7 separate regions of the Homo sapiens genome follow, and all the other regions are linked to region 1. Evidence: promoter capture Hi-C in 16 types of primary human blood cells and fetal thymus (Javierre and others, 2016). All regions are on one chromosome and are shown on one strand. Each heading gives the region's core, a stretch centred on a gene start or on the middle of the fragment in contact. The rest is flanking DNA. Distances are from core to core; before and after follow the strand shown.

Region 1 (3,607 bases), core at 684-3,183:
ATTTGTTGATAACAAGTTAATTGCAATATTGTAATTTCACTATATGTAGATGTCATTTTTTTTCTCCTGTGAATTGCCTTGAAATAGATGCACATCTGATATCGAGCTGTGGCACACTGTAAAAGATAAGACATAATTTTTTATGGCACATTATTTTAAAAATGTGTTCTAATATAGTCAGGTACTAGCGATTTTTTTTCTAGACATTGTGTCCTGTTTTTGACCCCCCCGCCCCACACACCCCTAAAGCACCTTTCATATACTTTCATTGGGAAATATAAACTTAATGGAAACAGTAGCCTAACCTCAGAGTTGTGATTCTTGGTTTGTGATACCGGGTTTAAAACAGATGGAAGTTGATTTTAGTGGTTTCAACTTTTTAAATGCCAGAATTCTTTCTGTACTGTCTTCTATGTTCTTTTTGATGATCTGTAAGCTCCTTAAACATTAAAACATTTATTTCTTTTAGAACAAAACTCAAATACATGATGAAAGCAAGCTAAAAGCAGTGCATTTAACAAACCACAATATAATGTGATATATTTATAGAATTATTACTAAAATCAGAAAATCAATGTCTTAGTGATTAAGTCTAGGATAATCAAACTTATTGAATAGTTGCAGTAGTTACTTAATGAGATAGTTTTGATTAATCTTTTGTCCAAATAACAATATTGTGATTACAGGCTTAGCACTACAGGTAGTGTAACCATCAGTGAGTGAGATTAGTACATTTTACATAGTTTTGCTATTTTCTCAGTTTATTTTGGAGTCCAGTAATAACCAGTCAGTCTGTACCTGCCATAGGGCAATCTTTGGTTGATATGAGTTCCTTTCCTGATTTTAAAATAAGTGCAATCTTTAACCTAATAAAATTATCTTAAAGTTTACAATTGATGGTTTAAACACATTATAATTGCTCCGTATTTTGCAGATAGAAGAGGCTTAATCCATGTTTGTAGATCTATTTCCTAAAATAAAAATTAGTAAAAAAAAGTTTTTTTTCTTCAGGTTTAACATTCATTTTGTACCGGGAAGAGAAATGGAATAAGAGGCTCGGATTTTTAAGACTATGCAATCAGATACAAGTGCCATTTTGGCCAAAGAATGAGTAAAACATTCTAGTCCCGACACGTTTAATAATGGGCATACATCCTATTTCTTTGTTTCATAATCATTGAGCTCTCTGCCTTCTCTCTCTTTTTTGGTATGGTAACAAATTCGACAAAATCAATGCCATCTAGTTAAACTTTTTGATTAAGTAGTGGATCCGGTGTCCTATCCACGAAGAGGTGGGAAAAGCGATGTGGAGAAGCAGGCACGAACCCATCTGGAATGGAACATGTCCCTTCCGAATAATTTCATGTGGGAAAATAATTTCAAGTTGAAGGATAATTACTGCAGAGACTGCCAGTCACCCCCGGCCGCCGCCGGCCGCGCAGCGTCGGAAACCCTTCGCGGCAGCCAGGAGGGTCGCAGCCCTCCCGGAGCCCCGCTTCCTGCCCCGGGGCGGCGCACCCGGCTCCGGGAAGGTGCCGCGCGGGAGACGTGGCAGCAGCCCCTCCAGTCCGCGCCCGGGCGCAGCGGCCGAGCGCTCCGTGCAGCCGGGCAAGGAAGACTCCGCGGCAGCAGCGCACCGGCCGGCGGGGAGACCCGCCTGAAGCGCCGGCGCCCGCCAGGGGACGGGAAGTGGCGCCCGGCCCGCCCTTGCGGCCCGCGGCCCGCGGCCCAGCAGCTCCGCGCCGCCCCTTTTCTCTCGGCCTCTCCCTCGGCCTCCGCCACCCCGGCCGAATTCTTGCATAAATTATGCCAGGCGCGCCTGACGTCAGGTGGCGGCGCGCGGGCGCGGGCGCGGGCGCGGCGCGGCCCGGAGGGAGCTGGCGGCGGGCGCGCGCGGCCCCGCGGCTTCGGGTGCGCGCGGCGTGCCGGACGCGCGCAGGCGCTGGCGTGCTGGGGCCGCGGCGGCGGCGGCGGCGGCGGCGGCAGCGGCGGCGGCGGCGGCGGCGCGGGGGTTGAGTCGTGGTGGTGCGGACGCGCTCGTGCTCGGGAACTATCGGATTAAACTTGAATCGAGTGAAATTACACAAAGGAGCGCCGCGGAGGAGGCGGCCCGGGGACCCGGACACCCTGAAACTCACCAGAGACCCGTTCGCCCCCGGCCAACTCCGTGCCCGTGGATTCAGCCCCCTGGCCGCAGCTGCCGAGCCAACTCCGGAGCCCGCTCTGCGTTTTGTTTTCCCCTCGGCACTAGGCAGCGGAGGAGCCCGACCGACCCGGTGAGCGCGAGAGTTCGCCCGGCGCCCCCGGGAGGGGCGGCGGCGGCGGCGGCGGCAGGAAATCGCTCCGGGCCGGGGCCGGGGCCGCGCTAGGAGTTGGGAGCGAGGAGTTGGGCGTGTGCGGGGCGAGGGGCGAGGGGCGAGGGCGGGAGGGGGCCGGGGCCAGCGCAGGAGCGCAGCGCCGCCCGCGTAGTGTCGCCGGCGTCGCCGCCCGCGGGGCCCGAACCCGCGCCCCGAGCGCCGCCCGGCGCCCCAACTTTTGCCTGCGTCCGCCGGGCCGGCGGCGGCGGGGGCGCGCGGTGCGGCCGAGGGTCACTTCCTCGCATGTAAATGGCTTTTTGTTGTGCTGCCGGCGTGGGGGGGGGGTACGGGGGACAGGAGGGAGCGTGTCTGCGCGCGGGGGAGCGCGAGCGCGTTTCCTCCCGCCGGCGCCGAGCACGAGTTGCCGGCTCCATTCGAGAGAAAAAGGAAGGAGGAAAAGTTGGGCTCCAACTCAAGTGCGAGCGGGCGATGGGCGCGCGGGCGCGGGGCGGCTGAGCAGCGGCGGCGGCGGCTCGGGGACGGCGGCGACCCCCGCCTCCCGCCCCCGCCCCCCGCTCCGGACCGACCACGCCGCGCTCGCCGGGAGCTGCGGCCGCACCGGCGCGAACAAAGTGCGTTCCTCCCGGCGCGGCGGCGCCAGCCCGCGCGGGGACCGCCACCGAGCGAGGTGGGTCGGCGGCGGGGAAAGTGCGCGGGGCGCCGCGTGGGGCGGGGGCAGCGCGAACACGCGGCGCGGGAGGCGTCCCGAGCTCAGCCAGTGCCGGTCGCGGGCGCGGAGTTGCGAGCCCGGAGTTGGGGGCTCCTGGGGCTCCCCGGCGGCTCCCAAGTGCGCTAGGAGGAGAAGAAAGGGAGCGGGGCCGGGGCGAGCGCCGGGAGGCGCGGCGAGGAGGGGACCCCACCTTGTCGAGCTGGCCGGGCCGCCGGCGGCGGCAGCTGCATAATAGCGACTTTAACCTTCCAACGCAACTCGGCTCCCCCGCCCCCCAACCCGCCGGGGGTCAGCGCCGGTGGGGGGTGGTCACCAGGTGGCCCCCGAGGTGACCCGGGTGCGCTCTGCCCTCGCAGAGAGCCGCGGCTTGGAGCGTGAACGGCCGAGGTGGCTGGAGGCCAAGCGGTCAGCGGGGAGAGGAAAGGAGGGCGGTGGGGGACGCGTTGTTTGTTTGGTTCGCACCGGGGATTGGGCTCGCTGGGGGCGCGGGGCTCGGGCGGGGGCGCGGGCACCGGCTGGGCTGCGGTGCGGGGCGGGCGCGGCGGCGCGGGGCTGTCGAGGTCGCGGGGGGGGGGGGCGG
Region 2 (3,352 bases), core at 596-3,095, 430 kb after region 1:
ACATTGCCTTAAGCAGGACAACAGCTTTCCCTGCAAGCAACAGAGAGCATTTTACTTGGCCAGATGCCAGATGGAGGGAAAGGGGTGAGGAGGGATTTTTCCCATCCCCGTTGGGATTCACATATATAATTTTCTACTTGGAGTTTCTCACACTTGACTAAATGCTGGCTGAGGAGCTGGTGTGATCGGGGAGAGGGATTTGAGGGGTTCCATTTGGAGGGGCTTGTAGAGGCTGCTATGCATTCTGGCTGGGGTTGGGGTCATACTCGTATCCACATTCTGCTTCTTCCAGTTACTTCTGTGTGCACTTCCTTTTTTTTTCATTTGCAATGTAAGGAAAATATTACTCTTAAACAGTTGTTCCAAAGTCTAAATGAAGTAATTTCCATCAAAGGCCCTGGCACCTGTGAACTGTTGGAGCAGATGGTGTTGAGGTCCCACTTAGGGTCACCAAATTTAGCACCTAAAAATCCAGCACACCCGGTTAAATCAGAATTTCAGATGAAGGACAAATGCTTTTTAGCTATAATACAATACATAAATATAACCAAATATATTACACAATAGAATATATAATAACATAAATATTTATAAATTTAAATACTTCAGTATAAATATTGCTTTGGGCATATTTATACTAAAAAATTATTTGTTGGTCATCTGAAGTTCAAATTCAGTTCAAATGGCAACTGTAGCTGCTATGGTTTGCATGTGCCCTCCAAAACTCAGGTAGAAACTTAATCCCCAAAGGGTCAGTGTTGAGAGGTGGGGCTCTGAAGAGGCGATTGGATCATGAGGGCTCTGCCTTCATGAATGAATGAATCTATTCATGGATTAATGGATTACGGGTTAAGGGATTAATGGTTTATCATGGGAGAGGAACTGGTGGTTTTATAAGAAGAGGAGGAGAGGCCTGAGATAGTACGTTAGCACTCTCAGCTCCCTCACTGTGAGATGCCCTGCACTGCCCCAGGACTCCACAGACAATCCCCACCAGCAAGAAGATGCGCCCCATCAACCTTGGACTTCCTAGGCTCCAGGACTGTAAGAAATAAATTTCATTTCTTATAAATTACCCAGTGCCAGGTAGTTTATGAAACAGAAAACAGACTAAGACATTAGCCTCACTTCATCCCCTCCTCTGGGCCTGTGCGCTGACTCCCAGCTGCCCTGAGCGTTGGCTGCTAATGGTGCACGGTTGCCCCCTTCTATTGAGGCCTTGGCTGAATCGGAGCTGTCTCACTTGGGAAATTAATCCCCCTCCCACCACCAGTGGGGTCGGCCTGTAACCCTGACTGCCTGGCAGGTGCAGAAAACATTGGCTGCCTTTTCTCAAGTAGGGGTAAATTCTGTGTGCTGTTAGGGAGCTGCCCTGACAACCCAGGCTGTAGCTAGACTCCAGACAAGACCACATCCTGCCAGAATTCTTCCCTTGCTCTCTCCCTTCCCTCTCTTCCTTTTTGAGACGGCTTCCTCAATTATTCCATGGAATCCTCATCTCCAGTTTTGTCTTAGATTGAAACCTAGTCTAAGGCAGCAATCCATGAATGTGGATTTTCCCCCTTTCCTATGATTAAGACATTGTGAAGATCTTTTAAAAAGTGGGATTTAAAAAAAAAAGTTTTTTAATTTAATTGTGGTAAAAACTATGCAACATAAAATGTACCATCTTAACCACTTCTGAATGTACAGATCAGTAGTAAGTATATTCACACTGTTGTGCAACCAAAGTCTAGTGTAGAACTTTTTCACCTTGCAAAACTGACACTCTGTACCCACTAAACTACAGATCTCCATTTCCTGCCTCCCCTACCCCCTGGCAACCACCACTCTACCTTCTGTCTCGAGAAATTTGACTACTTGAATTATCTCACATAACTAGAATCATACAGTATTAGTCTTTTCGTGACTGGCTTATTTCACTTACCATAATGTCCTCAATGTTCATCCATGTTGTAGTCAGAATTTCCTTCCTTTTTAAGATGGAATAATATTACCTTGCATGTGTAGACCACATTTTGTATACCTATACATCTGGTGATGGATATTTGGGTTGTTTCTACTTCTTGGCTATTGTGGATAATGTTGCTATGAATATGGTATGCAACTATCTCTTTAAGATCCACTTTCTCATTTTTTGTGTATATACCCAGAGATTGGATTGCTGGATCGTATGGTAACTAAATGTTTAATTTTTTGAGGAACCTTCATACTGTTTGCAGTAGTGGAATACAGTAGGGATTCCTGAAAAAAGTAGGAATTCCTGAAAAAATGCAATGACGCTTAAGAGAGTGTTTTCAGATATTGATATACGGCTTTCACTGTGCAAAATATTAGAAAATTCACAAACATAAAAAATCAAACTATTTTATCAGATTATGAGTCCCCTTTTAAATGACAGTTGATTGCAAAAACAAGATGGTCTTCTTCCTCCAAAAGGAGGAAGAGAAGGGTGTCATTTTCCCAAAATGATGAGTCAATATTTTCTTTGGTATCTTCTTGGTTTGTACTTTTGGTACAGGCTGACATGCTAAATTATCCTTCAGATTTGGGACAAAATAATTGGGAATGGAAAGGAAACTGAAATCAGCATCAATTTGTGATTTAATCTTTCACATTTAAACTTTAATTCAATTGAAACTTATTTTAGTTAGCAAGTAGTTCCATCTATATTTATGGATCATTTCCATATTGGTTGGGATGCTATCTCTATCACATATTTGTTTAAATGTGGGCCTCTTTCTGGTCTTCTGTTCTGTAAATCTTTCTGCCTAGCTCTCTGCTATTAGTATACTGTTTAAATTTCTGTGGCTTTAAAACATATTTTGAATATAGGAGAACAAGGCTTTCTTTATTACCCTTCTTTAAAAAAATTGGCTATTATATAGTCCTTCTATCAAAAAGTTCATCATTTTTATAGATTTTAAAATATTTCATTGAAATTTTAATTGAAGTTGTATTAAATTTATAGAGTTTTGCAGAAAATTGGCATTTAATTTTTCCAGAAGATCTCTCCAATTCACAGTCTTCTTTTAATAATCTTCTTTTAGTAAACTTCAGCAAAGTTTTTTTCAAATCGGTACTGTAGAATTCTTGTTGAATATCCCCTAAGTATTTAATTTTTGTTTGCTAAACAAAGGAATATGAATAGTTAACTAAAGTTGTGAATAAGATCTTTTATTTCAAATGACTGTTGCAGGGAAGCAAAAGAAATAAGCATGATCTGCATTCCCACCACCTATCATAATCGCTGTTATTATTTTAAAGTTCTCCGTGCTACACACACACACACACACACACACACACACACACACACACGCACAGAGACAGAGAGAGAGAGAGGTTCATATTA
Region 3 (3,344 bases), core at 196-2,695, 330 kb after region 1:
GCCAGCCTTATTATTTAGAAAACTGCCCGATAGGGGCATCTTGCAGATGACTGACTCCCAGTGACAACAGGATCTGCATCTAAAATAACATGAGTAGATTGCGGATTGATTCATGGGATCCAGCATGGAGCAGCCCAAACTCCATCCTTCCAAGTTTCATCTCCGAACTCCTGTCAGTCTCAAAATTGATAGAACAGCCTGAAGCCATTAAACAGAGTTATGTCAGCAATCACCTTTCTCATTCTCTCATATGGGTGCGAATACGTCAAGGGGACCCAGGCAAGGGAACAACAGGGTGGCTTTTTTTTTTTAGCATTCAAGGGAACAACAGGGTGGCTTTTTTTTTTAGCATTATGACAAGCAAATGCTTGAATACCAAGGAGCACATGAGCTTTACAGCAGCAGGGAAAAAAGAAAAGAAAAGAAAAAAAAGCCCCCACATGGACGCCTGCCTCCAACTCCAGTGGCCCTGCACGGTGCAAAAAGGAGATTGCTAACAAAAAGGTTATTCAACGCTTCTCCGAATAAACCCAAAGGTAACAAGTATGGACGGAGCAGATGTCAGGAGGCTGAGCGCTACTTTGGAAAACTGCCGAGATATTTAAAAATAGCGCTTTCTTATTAACCCGAGCATAATGCTGAAAGTCCTTTAAAATAAAACTTCCCAGATGCCACCTGCATCTGACATGGCAATAGGATGAATGCCAGTGTGCCCACTGATACTGGAAATGCTCTCAAGAAACAGCCTCGACTGATTGTTCCGGCACAAACAAATCACAAACTAATTTATGTATTCCTGCAGCTGCACCCCAGCCGAGGCGGGGGAGTCGGACCAATTCACAGTTGACTAGTGCTGCCTCATTCTTTGCAGATTTTGGCATTTAACTATAATTAAGATTTATTGTTCACTAGCTTGCAGGTCAGGGCAAGCATGACAATATGGGTGACTTTTCTGTTTACTAGTGAAATGTCTGGTAGGAGGAAGCCTCAAACCTTCCAAGCAGAACTTGACAGAAATAAATAGCGCCTCTTCTCTCCAGGACTAGCACATTACCGATTTTAATCAGATGTGAGGAGTCACTTGAAGGGAGGGAAGGGACAAATCGGAAAGAGCTAGTGAACTGTGCTGTTGCTTTTGCATCAGAAGGGTAATGGCCAGAAGCCAAATCAATTATTGCTGATCTTCTGGATTTGGGAAAGGTATTGTCTGCTTGGTGTGGGAGGGAGGGAGCCCTTGATGGTTCTGCAGAGACTAGGACCTGTAGTTTCTCCTGGCCTCTCCTTGCCATTGAAAGGAGAACCATTCCTCATCTCTTCTTACTCTCAAGGATGCCGCTGGACCAGATCAGATGGCCCGAGGAGGAGGGAAGCAGGGTTCAGCAGTCAGCGGCCACTCACCTGCCTTTACCGTCTGTCTGCTGCGGTCCTGGGCAGGTGACCCACGACACAGTGGGTGTGAAGAAACAAATGATCCTGAGCAGACAGATGAAGAAGGGCATCCCATCCCCACTGCTTTATTAGAAGGCAGAAATGCTAACGTGCAATGTGCTTCCATTTTCTAGCATCTATAATTGATTGTATATCACCGTTTGGACTCCTTGGGATATTTTTGTCGGTGTCTATATAAAACAGAAAAACATCACTCACAAGGACCACAGGTTTGAAGCCTGAGCCTGCTCTGTTTCTCTTGTTCCCTGACAGAGGAGGAGGGAAAATCCTTTGCCCTTCTGTAGTGCTGCTAACTACAGAATGTAATTATATATAATAATGTAAAAAATGCCTTTGTATCTCACCTTAAACTGTAAAGGATTCAAAATATGGCTTTCAAATATCTATACAACACTTTAGGAAACAAAGGTGAAATAAGTGAGTGAGAAAATTGGGTGATTCCTGCATTCTTCTGTTTCATGCTGCCTGTTAACATTAGCACTACCAGTTCCTGGAAGCTGAAGTTCCTGGTTTGATTCAGTAATGTATAATGCAGGACTTAATTCCAGCGCATTTGTTTTTCTCTTTATCAGAAAAGGATCTTGAGATTCTGAGAAGTAAAAGGAAACTTTTGTTTTGACATTAGGAGAAGGCTGTAAAAGCAAGCATTTTCCCCAAAGGTGAAAATAGTGTGAAATTAATTTTAGTCGTGTTTAGATATGAGATCGGACAAAGGATTTAAAAGAAAACTTTTCATCTATTTTAGCAAGTGAAGATGTTTTATAGTAGCAGATACCAGATTGCTAATGCTGTGGAATTCAGTTCAATTGAAGTGTTACTGAACCATGGAAGAGGAAAATAGAATTGTGGGAGGGTGGATTCTAATATTTAGATTTGGCTATTTGTAGTATTTTTAACCACTTAAAAAGTCAAGTTCTTGGTTGCACTAAAGTCACTATCGTTAGTTTAGTTTTCAGATTTTGCCAGTTAAATCAGCATCACTTTATCCTAAGGAAACCTGAGACAGGCATAGAAAGATTCCAGTAAGTCTCCCAGAGAGCCAACCTGACCCTAAATGCAAGCCTGGTTTACCAAGCCATGGAACTTTGAACTTGGTGATGCTCTGTAAGGTCATCTCCTGAGAACGCAAGCAGCCACCACGCTACTCCCGCATTGCTGATAGAAGCAAAGCACATTTATAAACACGGGCACCTGCCACTGTGGACACAAACCGGCACAGAAAAGGACGTGCAGGACACAGTGGCCATTTAGTGGACAGGACGTCGTTAAGCGCACCGCCCCTGGGTACAGACAACGGAAGGGGGAGGGAAGGAGCAGTGTGGCAGGGCCATGCGCTCGGAACAGGTGGGAAGCTGGAGGAAAATCACTTTGCTCTCAGCTGGGGAGGGCTTTGTGGAGGAAGCAGGATTTCAGGAGCTGCAAGAATGATTGCAGGAGACAGCTTGACGGGATGGGATGGGGCAGGATTCCAAGCACAGGGACTCCTGCCCAGGAACGAAGGAAATCTTGAAGGAGGGAATATGTGCTTAGTTGATGGGTCAGTGGGAAGAATTCCAAGGAAGAAAGAGGAGGAATGGGCCATTTATTAGTAGGGCAACTTGGATGCGCAGGACGCAGATCGTCATCTACTCAAACACAGTCACTGTTTTGCCATCATCCCTGAACGCGCAATTACTTTGTTACAGTCCTCCACATTTAAGCTTTGTTTTTTTCAACAATAATATGGCACCCAAATTGGTCACCACACTCATAAGGGAATACTAAAAATGAGACATGATTCATCAAGCTGCCTTCAGTAGAGATAAAATGGATCAAAACACAGGCAAAATAACCCCACTGTTAGAAAATTTTTCTAAAAAATGTGTTTTCTAAATTAGAGAAGAGAGGAGTACCAC
Region 4 (3,384 bases), core at 843-3,342, 390 kb after region 1:
AGACACTTCATCTACTTTTGTCTCTTCAGTCTCTGACGTAGTTCTTGGCACATGGAGTGTGCTCGACAAATATATATTAAATAAATGGTTGCTAAATTATATATGTGGGTGTATATATAATGTGTGTGTACATATATAATTGTATTATATAATTATATATGTGAGTATATATACTTATAAGGATATATTATATATTATTAGTTGATATATTATTATAATGATCATTATTATAATGATATATTAATAATATATAATTATAAGTACGAGCCATAGCTATGAGAGCACAAGCAAAAAATCCACAATAGTTCAAACTATTTTTTAAAAAGCTAACACTTCAGGTCCTGGCACAGAGGCTCATGCCTTTAATCCCAGTGCTTTGGGAGGCCAAGGTGGGAGGATTGCCTGAGGCCAGGAGTTCAAGGCCAGCCTGGACAACATAGAGAGACCATATCCTAAGTGAATTAATACAGGAACAGAAAACCAAATACTACATGTTCTCCCTTATAAGTGGAAGCTAAACTTTGGGTACTTATAGACATAAAGATAGCAGCAATAAACACTGGGGACTACTAGAAGGGGGAGGGAAAGTGGGGGTCAAGGGCTGTAAAACCAACTATTGGGTACTATGTTCACTACCTGGGTGATGGGATCAACCATACCCCAAACCTCAGCATCACACATATACCCAGGGAACAAACCTGCACATGTACCCCCTAAATCTAAAACGAAACTTGATATTGAGAGAGAGAGAGAGAGAGACCTTGTCTCTATAAAAAATTTTAAAAAAAATTAGCAGGTGTGGTGGCTAGCTCCTAGGGAGGCTGATGCGGGAAGATTACTTGACCCCAGAAGATCGAGGCTGCACTGAGCCCTGATTGCACCACTGCACTCCAGCCTGGGTGACAGAGCGAGACTCTGTCTCCAATTAAAAGAATATATATGTGTATATGTATATATATATATATATATGTATGTATGTGTATATATATATATATATATGTATATATATACATACATACACATACACATATCAAAAAGCTACCACTTCAGAATCAACAGCTTCTTCAAGGCCTTAACACAGTTTCACTATGGCTAAGACTCCAGGGCGGGAGAGCTGTGTGAGTTAGGCCCACTAATCATATCTCCTCAAGAAGGAGAGACACACACAGCAGCTGGCACTGTGCTGGGTGCGTAGGAACCTCTAACTGGTGGCCCTCAAGCTTGCAGGGTGTTCAGAAGAGTCACATACCTACCCCTTAGGGCTGATGAATTAGGAGATATTTATAGCCTCCCCCGACTCCTCTCAAGACCCATTCTCAATTCCTGCTCCCCTCATTCTCAGCAGATACCCTCATCTCATGAGTCATTGGGGATGCTGAGGTCATCAGTGTGCTTTCTGGTAATTTCCCAGTCTTCTACAATTTACCTACACCCATGTCCCTGCTGCAAGCCAGGCCTCCAGCCAGGGGAGATAAGGTGGCCTCCTTGCCACACTTTCTGGCTCTCCCAGGGTTTGCATCCTCTTGTCCTGTGCCCCTTCCTTCATCTGCTCCCCACACACACACCTCCCGGGGTCTCTCGAATTGTTCCTTCTCTTCCTACCGATGCCCCCTCTGCCTAGGAAGGGTCTCCCACTAATGTTCCTTTTCTAGATTTCTACTCCAGCCTGAGACTCTGTCTTGCATTTCCATTTGTCCCTCTTCCACAGTGCAGACTGAGGAATTCTTTTTTTTTTAGATGGAGTTTCATTCTTGTTGTCCAGGCTGGAGTGCAGTGGCACGATCTCGGCTCACTGCAACTTCCGCCTTCCAAGTTCAAGTGATTCTCCTGCCTCAGCCTCCCAAGTAGTTGGAATTATAGGTGCGCACCATCATGCTTGGCTAATTTTGTAATTTTTTAGTAGAGACTGGCTTTCACCATGTTGGTCAGCCTGCTCTCGAACTCCTGACCTCAAGTGATCCACCTGCCTCAGCCTCCCAAAGTGCTGGGATTACAGGCATGAGCCACCGCGCCCAGCCAGAATTCTTTTTACAATGTAGGTCATAGGCCATTCCCAGTGCACCAGCTCCGACTTCCTCGCTTTCCAACATTTTGAGAAATCACATCAGTAAGAGCGACACTAAATCTTTCTACTTTTTCCTTTCCTTCTTTCTCTCTCTCTTCCTTCCTTCCTTCCTTCCTCTGTTTTCCCTTCCTTCCTTTTGAAAGTAAATTATTTGCATACTTGAGTATTTATCAGCAGTCACACTTTCTTTGGTGCATCTTATAGCAGATAGGACACATCAGTGCTTGAGACATCTTGACCCTGTGGCTGGGCTTGTGTCTTCCTCTGCATCTCATGCACCTTGCCTTGTGTTTCTGCTTCCTCTCACCTAGTTCACTTACTGTTCTCAGTTCTGCTCCCAACACTATACCCTCATTACCACTGTCAACATCTGCCCCATCCTTATCTGTTCCTTCTGCCAGTGTTGCTCTTGCAAGTCCTCTGACTTCCCCACCACATTCTTGAGGCTTTCCTTTTTTTCTTTCTTTTTATTTTATTTTATTTATTTATTTTTTGAGACAGAGTCTCGCTCTATCTCCCATGCTGGAGTGCAGTGGCGCGATCTTGGCTTACTATAGCCTCTGCCTCCCGGGTGATTCTCCTCAAGTGATTCTCGTGCCTCAGCCTCTCAAGTAGCTGCAGGCATGCACCACCATGCCTGGCTAATTTTTGTATTTTTAGTAGAGACAGGGTTTTGCCATGTTGGCCACGTTGGTCTCAAACTCCTGACTTCCTGTGATCCACCCGCCTCGGCCTCCAAAAGTGCTGGGATTCCAGGCGTGAGCCACAGTGCCTGGCCTCTCCAGGTTTTTCTTGAATGGCTCCTTTTATCTCCCCTTGGCTGCCTCGTGTTCTGCCTGCCCCTGAGGCCCTGTCCTCAGGGTTCTGCCTTCTGCCTATGGCTTACTTTCCTATCTCTGCAAGCTTCCTATGGGATATTTTCTGTGTTTTGTGTGCGTCTCTCATATCACATGCACTCCTCTTATTTTAGCTTTATCCTCAGGGCCTTCTAGAACATTGGCCCACCATTGAGGCTTGCTTGCTGGGCTACAGTCATGATTCCGAGGAGGATTATATTGTGATTTTATGAAAGTTATCCTTTTTGTTTTATTGCCAATACTGTTCCTAAGGGCAACCAGCATTTTGATGACATTTTTCAATAAAGCAGCACATTGCCTCAAGTCTTCAAGAATTTCCTATTGTTTTCCCATCTTCCACCCCTCTTCTTGCTGACGTGAGGAAATGCTCCTCAATTCAGAGGCCTGGCAGGGTGTGGTGGCTCATGCCTGTAATCCCAGTACTCTGGGAGGCCAAGGCAGGAGGATCACTTGAGCCCAGGA
Region 5 (3,484 bases), core at 905-3,404, 450 kb after region 1:
TAATTGACTGATTTAGTGACAGAAGGCAAATGTTTTCTGAAGAGTATTAAGAGGCTTCCAGTCACATGTTTGAAATGTACAGATGATAGTAACCCCACACCCCTCTACTGTTGGTGGAAAAAACACTGGGTGGGCTCAGAAAGCTGGAAGATTGCTGCCAGAGGCTCCTTAGGGCTTCCCTGGACCCCTTTCTTTCACTACAAAATTGATGCCAGTGCAGAGGCCTAAGATAGTTCTAAAATTCCAGACTCATCAACTCATAAAAATATCACTAATCATTCATACAGTGAGGCAGGATTTTAGAGGAGTATTTGGTTTGAGCCCCCATTTTAGACATGGATGTCACGGGCTCTTTTCTACTTCGAGGTTATTTTTCTATGTGCTCATCTGCATATCTGGAGATAGTTCTACACGAGGATCATGTGCCTGAGCCTCAGTGGCTGGTCACCACCCTAATGTGAGCCTCTTACCAGCCAACATTGTCCCCTAGGGAGACTCTTCCCTATGCCCTGGGTAGGACATTATCACTGAAACCATGGATTCACAAAGGATTTTGAGACAAAAGATGTCTGCCCTGAGCACATATGCATTTTAGGAATGAGGAGAATGGATTCAAGACAGAGAAAAGATGACTGGAGTGGGTCAGATGTAAGGTGATGAAGGTGCGAATTATGCAGTGGTTATGCAGGTGAAAATTAATGCACATATATGAAGAGTTTGCGGAGTCAATTGGCAAATTATATGAACTGCTTGGGGCTGAGGGACAATATTGGGCTGGGAGTACATTGTGTTTGAGCGTTTCTGTCTGTGTAGTGGGAGTGTGACTCACTGAAAGGTGAGGAAGGACGGGCCTTTGGCTGGAAGGTAGGGAAGAAAAGGGAACTGGGAGAAGTTGTTCTTGGTTATTACACAGGAAAACATGACCCCCAAAACTTTGTTGCTGGCAGAGAAGAAATATTGCTTAGCAAAGGGCATTTACTTAATGCAAAGAACTTCCTTTTCTAGGGGCCAGTTTTTTTTTTTTTCTTTAACCATCGCTACTCAAGTAATAAGATTTAAGTGAGTGCTGTTTTTTAAAATCCAGACTTTTTTTTTTCTTTTTAATTCAAGGGCCTAATCAAGGGAATGGAAGATGAGGAGAATGAAGGCTCTGGGAATTTATTTTCATCGTGGACCGGACTTTTTATCAGCCAGGAAAAAGGTGAGTAAATATGACCTGGTGTTTTTGAAAACTGCATAAACTTCAGTGCTCGGGGATTTCCTGAAGCTGGCTATTAATGGAGGCTCTTCCCCTAACACTCAGGAGACCTGTGGGTATGGGAAGGGGCCATTGGATTGCCACAGCGACTGGGTGGGGTGCCTCTGGCACTTCCTGGGAGGTCATCAAGGGTGCCAAGTGAGCCACGGTACATGGACACTCACACATAAAAGTCTTAAAGGCTGGTACCTCTCACAAAATGCCAATAGCACCTGCTCAGAGAAACAACGAGGCTGGACCTGCAAAATGAGCTTGCACCAAGGGCTCTGTGATTCCTTAACTTTAAGCTCAACCCTAAACTGACCGAGTCTTGTTGCCTGAGGTCTCTTTGGGAGGGAGCCCACAGGCTGAGCCGGGATCAGCTGCTGGTGGTGAAAACCGATGCTGGGGTTGCGGCAGGGGAATCCTGGAGATGAGGGGGCACAGGAGCTGTGCATGCCAGGCCTGGCGGGAAAGGCTTTTCCAGAAAGCACCCGGGGCTGGAGAGACATAGTCCTGGGGACAACGCGGGCTGAGGCTTTGGGCAGGAGGTTCTACTGTGGCTGAATGCTGAGACTGGCTGAATGGGGCAGGCTTCAGGGTCTGTCAGATACCTGCCCCCAAGAAGCAGTTCCATAAAAGAGAAAAGAGAATCCCTGTCTTTTGTCCTTCTTTCCATCACAGATGTCAGCATCTGATGGCATTTCCCCTTCTGTGTGGCACAGTTCAGGGCTATTTGTTGGGTTTTACTAGAGAACAGCCTGTCTCCTGGGATTCTGTAGTGACGAGGCTTCCGCATGAAGCTTCAGATGTTCTAAAAAGCGGGATGCAGGGCCCAGTGAGCTGCAGAGTGATGAAGTGGGGGAAGTTCCCCAGTGTCGCTGCTGGGACACAATGCCTGACTCCCGTAAGTAAAGCAACACTACAGGGGTGGCTTAGGATGCACGCAGCCTGCCATTAGTGGAGGGGGCATTTGGTTTCCCCTAAAAGGGATGAGGTACCATCATTGCTGCTCTGTGCCAGGTGTGGGAGGAAGCTTTTGTGGGGTGGGCCTCACAGGGTCTGGCCTGGAGGCCTGAGCAGCTCTAGTCTTTTCATGGTGAAAAGCAGTGAGATTCTGAATTGGAGCAATACTATCTTCCAGCACCTGAGTCCTATAGCAACCAGCATGCTTCCACTGCAAAGTCTGGAAATGCATCTGGGAAGCATCAACCAAGGGCCAGATGCTCTGCCTGGTGGGGGACACCAGGGGACATTACCCTCAAGGAGTTAGCCTGTAGGGAAGGCAGATGGGAAAGCAAACAATGTCAATGGAGTTCAACACATGGCCACAATAGACAGCTGTAAAAGATAGGAAGGGGGCACAGACGAGGGGGTCGTCAATTCTGCACAGGAGGGTAGAGGAGGCAGGGCAGGGAAATCTCCCCAGGAGATATGATGGCTGAGTGGGGCCTTGAAGAGTGGGTATAGAGTAGCCAAGATGACAAAGGGGTATGGAAGTCCAGGAAGAAGCCGTGGCATAACAAAGGCATGGCTGTGTGGAATAACACATGGAAGTTGTAAGTAGCTCCTTAGGGCTGTTTATGGAGGTGAGCTGGGAGCAGTGGCAGCTGGCAGTCAGGTAGGGGCCAGATCAAAGGACCTTTTGTGTCACATTGAGGAGCTGAGAAGTCATCCTGTGAATGAAACGGCACCTTGAGGGGCTTGAGGTTGGACAGCAAGGCAGTCATAGCTGTGTATCTCTGCCAGAGGACGCTACACTGCCAAAACACATCGGAAGGATTGGGAAGGGGAAAGATTGGGATTTGCAAGGTCAGTTTTAGGAGGTCATTGTGCTTAAGAGTCTTGGTGATGAAGCCTGGGATGAAGGCACTGGCCCTGGGGTAGTTCAAGGGCACTTCTGTGATATACTCAAGAGGTGGACACAACAGGATCTCACGGTTCCTGGGAAATATGAGGCAGAAAAGGGAAATATAGCTCTAGAGCTCCAAATTGGGTGACAGAGTGAATTGTGGTGCTAACAACCAGGGTAAGGTATATAGGAGAAGGTTTTTTGTTTTTGATTGAGAGTGGTTGGGTATGAGAGGTTGGGAGGAAAAAGAAAGAGAGAATGAGCTCAATGGAGTTAGTTTTAGACCCAGTGCATTTGAGATGTTTATGAGATGTTCAGGTGGAGATGTCCAGCAGGCAGCTGGGTGTATAGTGGAGCCCCCTGTCATTCACATAATTCATTTACTCAAATTTAAG
Region 6 (3,699 bases), core at 518-3,017, 360 kb after region 1:
AGGCTGATTTTGAATTCCTGGGCTGAAGCCATCCTCTCACCTGGGCCTCCCAAAGTACTGAGATTACAGGCATGAACCACTGAGCCCAGCCTAATTTTGACTTTTATTTTAGATTCAGGGGGTACATGTACAGGTTTGTTACATGAGCATATTGCATGATCCTGAGGTTTCGGGTACAAATGATCCCATCACTCAGGTAATGAACATAATATCGGATAGGTGGTTTTTCAGCCCTTGACCCTCTCCGCCTCACTCCTTCTAGTAGTCCTCAGTGTCAGCTGGTCCCCTTTTTGTGTCCATATGTACCCAATGTTTAGCTCCCACTTATAAGTGAGAACATGCAGTACTTGGTTTTCCATTCCTACATTGATTTGCTTAGCATCATGACCTCCAGCTACATCCATATTTCTGCAAAGGACATAATTTCATTCTTTTTAATGTCTGCATAGTATTCCATAGTGTATATGTACCACGTTTTCTTTATTCAGTTCACCATTGATGTGCACCTGGATTGATTGCATATCTTTGCAATTGTGAATAGTGCTGTGATGAACATATTCATGCATGTGTAGAACAATTTATTTTCCTTTGGGCATATACCCAGTAATGGGATTACTGGGTTGAATGGTAGTTCTGTTTTTAGTTCTTTGAGAAATCTCCAAACTGCTTTCCACAGTGGCTGAACTAATTTACATCTGCACAAACAGTGTTATAAGCATTTTCCTTTTCTTTGCAGTATTGCCAGCCTCTGTTATTTTTTATCATTTTAGTAATAGCCATTCTGACTGGTGTGAGATGGTATCTCATTGTGGCTTTGATTTGCATTTCTCTGACAATTAGTGATGATGAGCATTTTTTTCATATGTTTGTTGGCCTCTTGTATGTCTTCTTTTGAGAAGTGTTGGTTCATGTCCTTTGCTTACTTTTCAGTGGGGTTATCTTGTTGAGTTGTTTTGAGTTCCACACAGATTGTGGATATTAGACCTTTGTTGCATGCAGAGTTTGAAAATATTTTCTCCCATTCTCTGGGTTATCTGCTTACTCTGTTGATAGTTTCTTTCACCGTGCAAAAGCTGTTTAGTTTAATTAAGTCCCACTTGTCAATATTTTTTGTTGTTGCAATTGCTCTTGAGGACTTGGTCATAAATTCTTTGCCAAAGCTGACTTCCAGAATGGTATTTCCTAGTTTTTTTTTTCTATGGGTTTTGTAATTTGAGGTCTTAAATTTAAATCTTTAATCCATCTTGAGTTAATTTTTGTATATGGTGAAAGGTAGGGGTTCAGTTTCATTCTTTTGCATATGGCTAGCCAGCTATCTCAGCACTATTTATTGAATATGGAGTCCTTTTCTTATTGCATATTTTTGTCAACTTTGTTAAAGATCATTTGGTGTAGGTGTATTACTTTATTTCTGGGTTATCTGTTTTGTTCCATTGGTCTATATGTCTGTTTTTGTACCAGTACCATGCTGTTTTGGTTATTGTAGCCTTATAGTATAATTTCAAGTCAGACAATGTAATGCCTCCAGCTATGTTGCTTAGGATTGCCTTGGTTATTCAGGCTTTTTTTTTGGTTCCAAATGAATATTAGAATAGTTTCTTTTCTAATACTGTGAAAAATGGTGTTAGTATCTTGATAGGAATAATGTTGAATCTATACATTGTTTTGAGCAGTATGACCATTTTAATAATATTAATTCTTCCAATCCATGATCATGGAATGTTTTCCCATTTGTTTATGTCATCGCTGATTTCTTTCAGCAGTGTTTTGTAGTTCTTGTAGAGATCTTTTACCTCCTTGGTTAGCTGTATTCCTGGATATTTTATTTTTGTGTGTGGCTATTGTAAGTGGGATTGCATTCCTGATTTGGCTCTCTGCTTGAATGTTATCAGTGTATATAAATGCTACTCTGTGCTCGCTTCGGCAGCACATATATTAGAAATGCTGCCCATTTTTGTGCATTGATTTTGTATCCTGACACTTTACTGAAGTCATTTATCAGGTCTAGGAGCATTTTGGCAGAGTCTTTAGGGTTTTCTAGGTAGAGAATCATATCATTAGTGAAGAGAGATGATTTGACTTCTTTTTCTATTTGGATACCTTGTATTTCTTTCTCTTGCCTGGATAGGACTTCCTGTTTTTTGTTTTTTGAGAGAAGGTCTGACTCTGTCATCCATACTGGGCTGCGGAAACTTAATCTCTTGAGTTTTGAACCCCCTGTCATTGAATTATACGAGAAAAAAAATTTCTTGATGGGTACTCTGCAAATTAAGAGTTTTGTTAACTTGGACCTCCTCTGGTCAAAGCTCCAACCAGCTTGAATCCCTTTCTTGCTGTTGATTGCTTCCTAATTTTTTTGGTCATAAATAACCTTAAGGAGGCAATTCAAACTTTGGCCACTTCTCTAAGAATGAGTTTTCTCATCCACAAAATGAGGAGAACTCTCTCATAAGGTCATGAGGATTAAATAAAATAATTTGGGTAAAGCATTTAGAATACATGGTAATTCCTCAATATTAACCATTATTATTGTTGTCAATTTTGCTTTCAAATATGTTAGCCCCTGAGAATCCACAATATTCTCTATCTTCATATTCTTGTATTTCAGCCTGTGACGTTAAGAGGAAGTCATCAGGAGAAGACCTTCTTAGTCCATTCAGGCCGTGAAAACAAATTATCAGGAACTAGGTGGCTTATAAACAATGTATGTGAAATTTGTTTCTCACAATTTTGGAGCCTGGGAAGTTCAAGAACAAGGCAGATTTGGTATCTGGTGAGGGCCCACTCTTTGGTTAGTAGACAGTGTCTTTTCACTCTGTTATTGCCCACCTCCCAATACTATCACATTGGGGGATTTCATCATATGAATTCTGGGGAGATAGAAACATTCAGATCATAACAAGGTGGCAGAAAAAATTTTCAGGAGGTCAGGGACTGTATCTTTTTCATCCTTACAGCTATAGCAGCCATTATAGGTTATTACTTTATAAATATGGCATTGGAAGGGAACAAGAATGAAGAAGAGAATAGAAGGGAAGGTCCCAGTGGAAACTCATGATCTGTTGCCTAAATTCCAAACATGAACCAGTTCTCAGACGTGGAGCCCATTAGTTGAGGGTCAAGTCCCAGTAAGGAAGGATTCTGCAACACTGAGGCAAATGTATACTGTAGGAATTCCTCAGTTCTCCTTTAAAGGCACATATGGGTGTTTACTTGGGTAACCCTTGGGAATAGGTTATGTCCAGCTTGTTCAAAAGCTGTTGGTTATAGGTCTGAGTTGATGTTGATTCCTCCCAACCCAAAGCACCATCATCATGTCCCTGTTAGAGGAGGGCTTTATGGGGCAAGTAATCAATGGAGCCATGGCCCTGAGCCATCATGAGATGGTGGGTCTCCCAGGTCCGCAGACCAACAGATGGTCACTTCCCAAATTCCTGAATACATACTAGGTAAGAACATACTTACCTTGGCAGAATCCTCATATTTCTTCCTGACCTTGGAGTAAAAGCTATTGTCATAGGAAAAGCCAAATGGAGGCTCCTGAAACTGCCTTCCCATATCAGGGTAGTTAATCAAAAGCAGCATGGTATCCTGGAAAGAATGGCAGAGGCTAAGTGCTACACTAACTGACACATGACGCAGAGGTAGTGGCTTTTATCTTAATCATCAGTCTGGTTCTGACAAAACCAGATGGATCAT
Region 7 (3,651 bases), core at 27-2,526, 420 kb after region 1:
TTTTCTTTCTTCTTGTGTATTCTCAAAAGCTTGTTATTAGGTGGTAGGGAATAAATTTTCTTCTGCTTATACCTTACTGTGTATATGACAGCTATATACATCTTTATGATGTATACCAATATAATGGAAAAAGGACTGACTCAATCAAAATAGACATACCAAGCCACACAAAACTGTGTCCCCTATATACCTTGAGTTGTTTGTGTGGGAAAAATCATATGATTAGAGCCATTCTCCTTAAGCACTTTTCATAACAATGGCTAGTGCAACAATTTGTAATGCAGCCTCTATGGCTATAGAATTCTTCCTGGACTCAGGCCAAGTGAGGTGAGTGTGGGGGTCCAAAAACTGTGTGGGTCATTCAGGTTTTTCCCAAATGCTGGAAAAAGATTGCTCATTATAATGTGCTTACAAAAAAACCCCAAAAGTCATTTTCCTGTCATTCTGCAGAAATTTACAGCAAATGGGATTCAGAGGATTACTGCATGAAGGAAATGTCAGTGTTAAATCTATAGACAGTCCCTTTAGTGCTGCATGTCATAAATTAAAAGCAAGCACTAGTGAAAAGGCTTGGTGAAGGGGAAAATAGTGAGGCACTAAGCTGATCTTCGTTGACTTTTCTTTCTGGAACACACATGCTTAGCTGCTTTTTCTTGGACCCCTCCCCCCAGCAAGAAATCACTGCATTTATGTGTGCGTCCAGCTCTCTTCAGCTACCTTAGCTATGCTTTTTCAGCAGCTCGCTGCAATGCCAGCATCAGGTGTCACAACTACTATGGTGACTGGGTTAATGGCTGTGCTGTTTTCCCTGGAGAAGCAGGGACAGACAGGCCAGTCTTTGTCTCTGCCAGCAGAGGTCTGAATTTAAAACTTCATCCCAGACAATGTGCCTGGGAGCCATGGGGTTTTCGGTCATTTGGCCTGGCTTATTCTCTGCCCCATCACCAGCTCCGTGAGCCTCGGGCTCACTGTGCACAGCCAGGCGCTTGTTTGAGGAGAGGAAAATGCATCTCTCTTTTCTTCCCTTTATTCTGAGCCCAAGTTTGATTCAAGTTTTTGAAGTCAGACCTGTGAATGGACTCTCTTCTGCTGGACTCGCCTGTGGCCCCAGCAATTCCTGCTCTGAGATACCAGTGCTTGGGAAGCGGGAGGTGGGTGTGGAAATCATGTTTTCATCTCTCTTATTTCTCTTGCCTGTCCTCCCACCACTATGGTTCTAATGCAAGGACTCGGGGCACTGACGCTGGGGGTGCTCATGTGTACTGTCCTCTGAATGCTGCCTCATTGATGATGATGAAGACCACAGCTAGGAATCCCTGAGCTCTATACAGTTCTGAATGCTTCGTGACATTGTATCAGTTTATCCTTAGAAAAACTCCAAGGCTATTAATATTATCTTCTCCTTTTTATGCATGAGGCAAATTGTGGCTCATGAGGTTGGGTAACTGTTATGTACTGAATTGTGTCTCCCTCACCAAATTCACACGTTGAAGCCCAAACCCCAGTACCTTAGAGTGTGACTGTATTTAAAGACAGTCTTTAAGGAGGTAATCAAGGTAAAAATGAAGTTGTATGAGTGAGCTCTTATCCAACTTGACTGGCGTCCTTGTAGATTAGGACACAGACACACAAACCAAGGGAAGTTCTGCTGAGGGCACAGGAAAAAAACATTCATCTCCAAGCCAAGGAGAGAGGCCTCAGATAAATGAAACCTGCTGACACCTTGATCTTGGACTTCCAGCCTCCAGAACTGTGAGGAAATAAACTCCTGTTCTTACCCACCCGATCAGTGGTGCTTGGTCTTGGCAGCCCTAGCAGACTAACACAGTAACTTTCCCAAGCTACACCCTTGGGCAACCTGACTATAGAAGCTATGTTTTCAATGTAAACCCCATGATTATTCTTTGTTATGTATATTTAGCCATTAGTTAATACTTTGTAATATTTAGCATTTAGTAATATATTTAGGCATTAGTTAATATTTGGGAAGGATGTGTTTTTAAATACTGATTAAGTCTCTATCTCCTTTCATATTCATAACATATTTACTGCCAAATTTTGAAAGAAGCCACTCTGAGAACTGAACTCGCCCTACCTAGTTATCTCTAGGTGAGCTGTGAATTTTTCAAAACAAAACTTAGTCAATTTTTCTTCAATTAAAGAAGAAAAACCAACTATGCAAAATAGCTCTTGGTTTTTTAGGGGCAGGAGGTAGGTTTCAGGAAATCAAACAAACAATAAGGTTTGGAAATCCCCCATGAGTGGGGCTTTCTGACCCCAGAGCAGGGGCAGGGCTGGCAGTCTCTCAAAGAAGTGGAGCATTTCTTATTTTTCCAAACGTTGAGACCATGGGTGAGAGGTGAGGGACTGGGGCAGGAAAGTCCACACAGGGCGCGCCTAGGAGGTGCTGGGTAGGCAGTGTCCCATGGAAACCCAGCTGAGCGGGAAGGGTGCCTGCAGCCCTTCTTGGCCAACCCCAGGTAGGCCAGCGACCTACTGGTTGATCCTGATCTACTGGTTGAGAAAGCTTGCCCGAGAGGATCTTACACAACTATGTATTTAGAGTTTTCCAGAAGACTTGCTCTCACTCTGTTTTCTGGTCTATGGTAGGGTTTCACATCAACACATCAAAACAAAGACCCCAAGCATAGGGATCAGGATGTTTGGTGTTTCAAGGCACGCTGGGATTTTTATTTTTAATGCCTTAAGACGTTTATCCTGTTAGTCAGATATCTTTTTTTATGTAGTTCATGAAAAAGCAACATCAGCCCAGTTTCCTGATTTCAGCTGCAGATACAGTTCATAGCATTAGCTACTTCTTCATCAATTTCTTCCTAAAAACTACCCGGGAATCAAAAAAGAATAGTAAACAACAGTTTTTATTGCATCCATATAGATTTCAACAGAGGAAACAGAGAAGAGTCAATGTCTGCAGGAGGTAAGGAAATGTGATCGTGCTGGCAAGTCTTGATTGGCTATGACCTTGAGTATAATCAATAGGCCACTTCCCCTTTTGTCAGGCAGAACTGAATTCCACGTATTTTTTTTTCTAGCAAAGGCACTTACCTAATGATATTAAAATTTTAATTGATTATGCTCGATGTTCTGAAAATTGAAACAGCTCAACTCAAACTCACTCAACCCGCTCGCCCTCCAGCCGCCATTGACTTGTGGATGCAACAGCTATAAATAAATGCTGCCACCTACAGGAGAGAGTGGGTTTGCGCAAGGGCGACTGCATCCTCTGGTCCTCTGCTTTCTGTCTTATTTCCTGCCTGGAACTCATATTTTACTGCTTTTCTTTCCTACCCTCTTCTCCATATGATTCTAAAAATCAGGATATGTATTTGTTTGAATTTCTTGATTTTGTTTTAGAATACAAAAAGAAAACCCCATATTCTGTAGGAAAAATGATTCTTTATAGTGAATCTCCAGATTCTCTAAGACTCATATAGTAAATATTAAAATAGGATGTAAATATTTAAAGCGAAGCCTGGAGAAAATAATTTGCGAGACTCAATGTCTGAACTAGTAATGCAAACACTTCAGACTTCTATTCAGTTTTTCCCCCCTCTTATACCAGAACATGAGTCAATAATGCTTCTCACTCTAAGTGAGTGAGCCTGGATCTGTGTTTTGGAATGGTGAAGA

The links. The method cuts DNA at HindIII sites, captures the fragments that hold promoters and counts their contacts. A CHiCAGO score of 5 or more calls a contact.
Region 2: a fragment that was not itself captured here is called in contact with the fragment with the promoter of CHD7 in region 1 in 15 of 17 cell types (fetal thymus, M2 macrophages, non-activated CD4 T cells and 12 more); the score reaches 12.3 in fetal thymus.
Region 3: a contact is called between a fragment that was not itself captured here and the fragment with the promoter of CHD7 in region 1, in 17 of 17 cell types (naive CD8 T cells, total CD4 T cells, non-activated CD4 T cells and 14 more). The highest score is 49.8, in naive CD8 T cells.
Region 4: a fragment that was not itself captured here is called in contact with the fragment with the promoter of CHD7 in region 1 in 12 of 17 cell types (non-activated CD4 T cells, naive CD8 T cells, total CD4 T cells and 9 more); the score reaches 14.5 in non-activated CD4 T cells.
Region 5: a contact is called between a fragment that was not itself captured here and the fragment with the promoter of CHD7 in region 1, in 11 of 17 cell types (activated CD4 T cells, fetal thymus, naive B cells and 8 more). The highest score is 8.6, in activated CD4 T cells.
Region 6: a contact is called between a fragment that was not itself captured here and the fragment with the promoter of CHD7 in region 1, in 17 of 17 cell types (non-activated CD4 T cells, neutrophils, activated CD4 T cells and 14 more). The highest score is 28.0, in non-activated CD4 T cells.
Region 7: a fragment that was not itself captured here is called in contact with the fragment with the promoter of CHD7 in region 1 in 17 of 17 cell types (activated CD4 T cells, total CD4 T cells, non-activated CD4 T cells and 14 more); the score reaches 54.4 in activated CD4 T cells.

What each region holds. Positions count from the first base shown.
Region 1 is chr8:60,676,807-60,680,413 of GRCh38, forward strand. It overlaps CHD7 (chromodomain helicase DNA binding protein 7), which reads left to right and starts at 1,934. Exons shown (of 38, transcript NM_017780.4): 1 at 1,934-2,276. RefSeq lists silencers at 1,482-1,921, 2,282-2,381, 3,042-3,411. The HindIII fragment of the contact is 9,178 bases long and covers 1-3,607 here.
Region 2 is chr8:61,108,902-61,112,253 of GRCh38, forward strand. It overlaps a transcript of CLVS1 not described here. Among named protein-coding and RNA genes, the nearest start is that of CLVS1, 180 kb to the right of the region's middle. The HindIII fragment of the contact is 3,973 bases long and covers 1-3,352 here.
Region 3 is chr8:61,005,077-61,008,420 of GRCh38, forward strand. It overlaps a transcript of CLVS1 not described here. Among named protein-coding and RNA genes, the nearest start is that of CLVS1, 280 kb to the right of the region's middle. The HindIII fragment of the contact is 3,404 bases long and covers 1-3,147 here.
Region 4 is chr8:61,067,250-61,070,633 of GRCh38, forward strand. It overlaps a transcript of CLVS1 not described here. Among named protein-coding and RNA genes, the nearest start is that of CLVS1, 220 kb to the right of the region's middle. The HindIII fragment of the contact is 1,748 bases long and covers 1,219-2,966 here.
Region 5 is chr8:61,130,660-61,134,143 of GRCh38, forward strand. It overlaps a transcript of CLVS1 not described here. Among named protein-coding and RNA genes, the nearest start is that of CLVS1, 160 kb to the right of the region's middle. The HindIII fragment of the contact is 233 bases long and covers 2,039-2,271 here.
Region 6 is chr8:61,039,749-61,043,447 of GRCh38, forward strand. It overlaps a transcript of CLVS1 not described here. Among named protein-coding and RNA genes, the nearest start is that of CLVS1, 250 kb to the right of the region's middle. The HindIII fragment of the contact is 6,210 bases long and covers 1-3,699 here.
Region 7 is chr8:61,093,076-61,096,726 of GRCh38, forward strand. It overlaps a transcript of CLVS1 not described here. Among named protein-coding and RNA genes, the nearest start is that of CLVS1, 190 kb to the right of the region's middle. The HindIII fragment of the contact is 2,498 bases long and covers 28-2,525 here.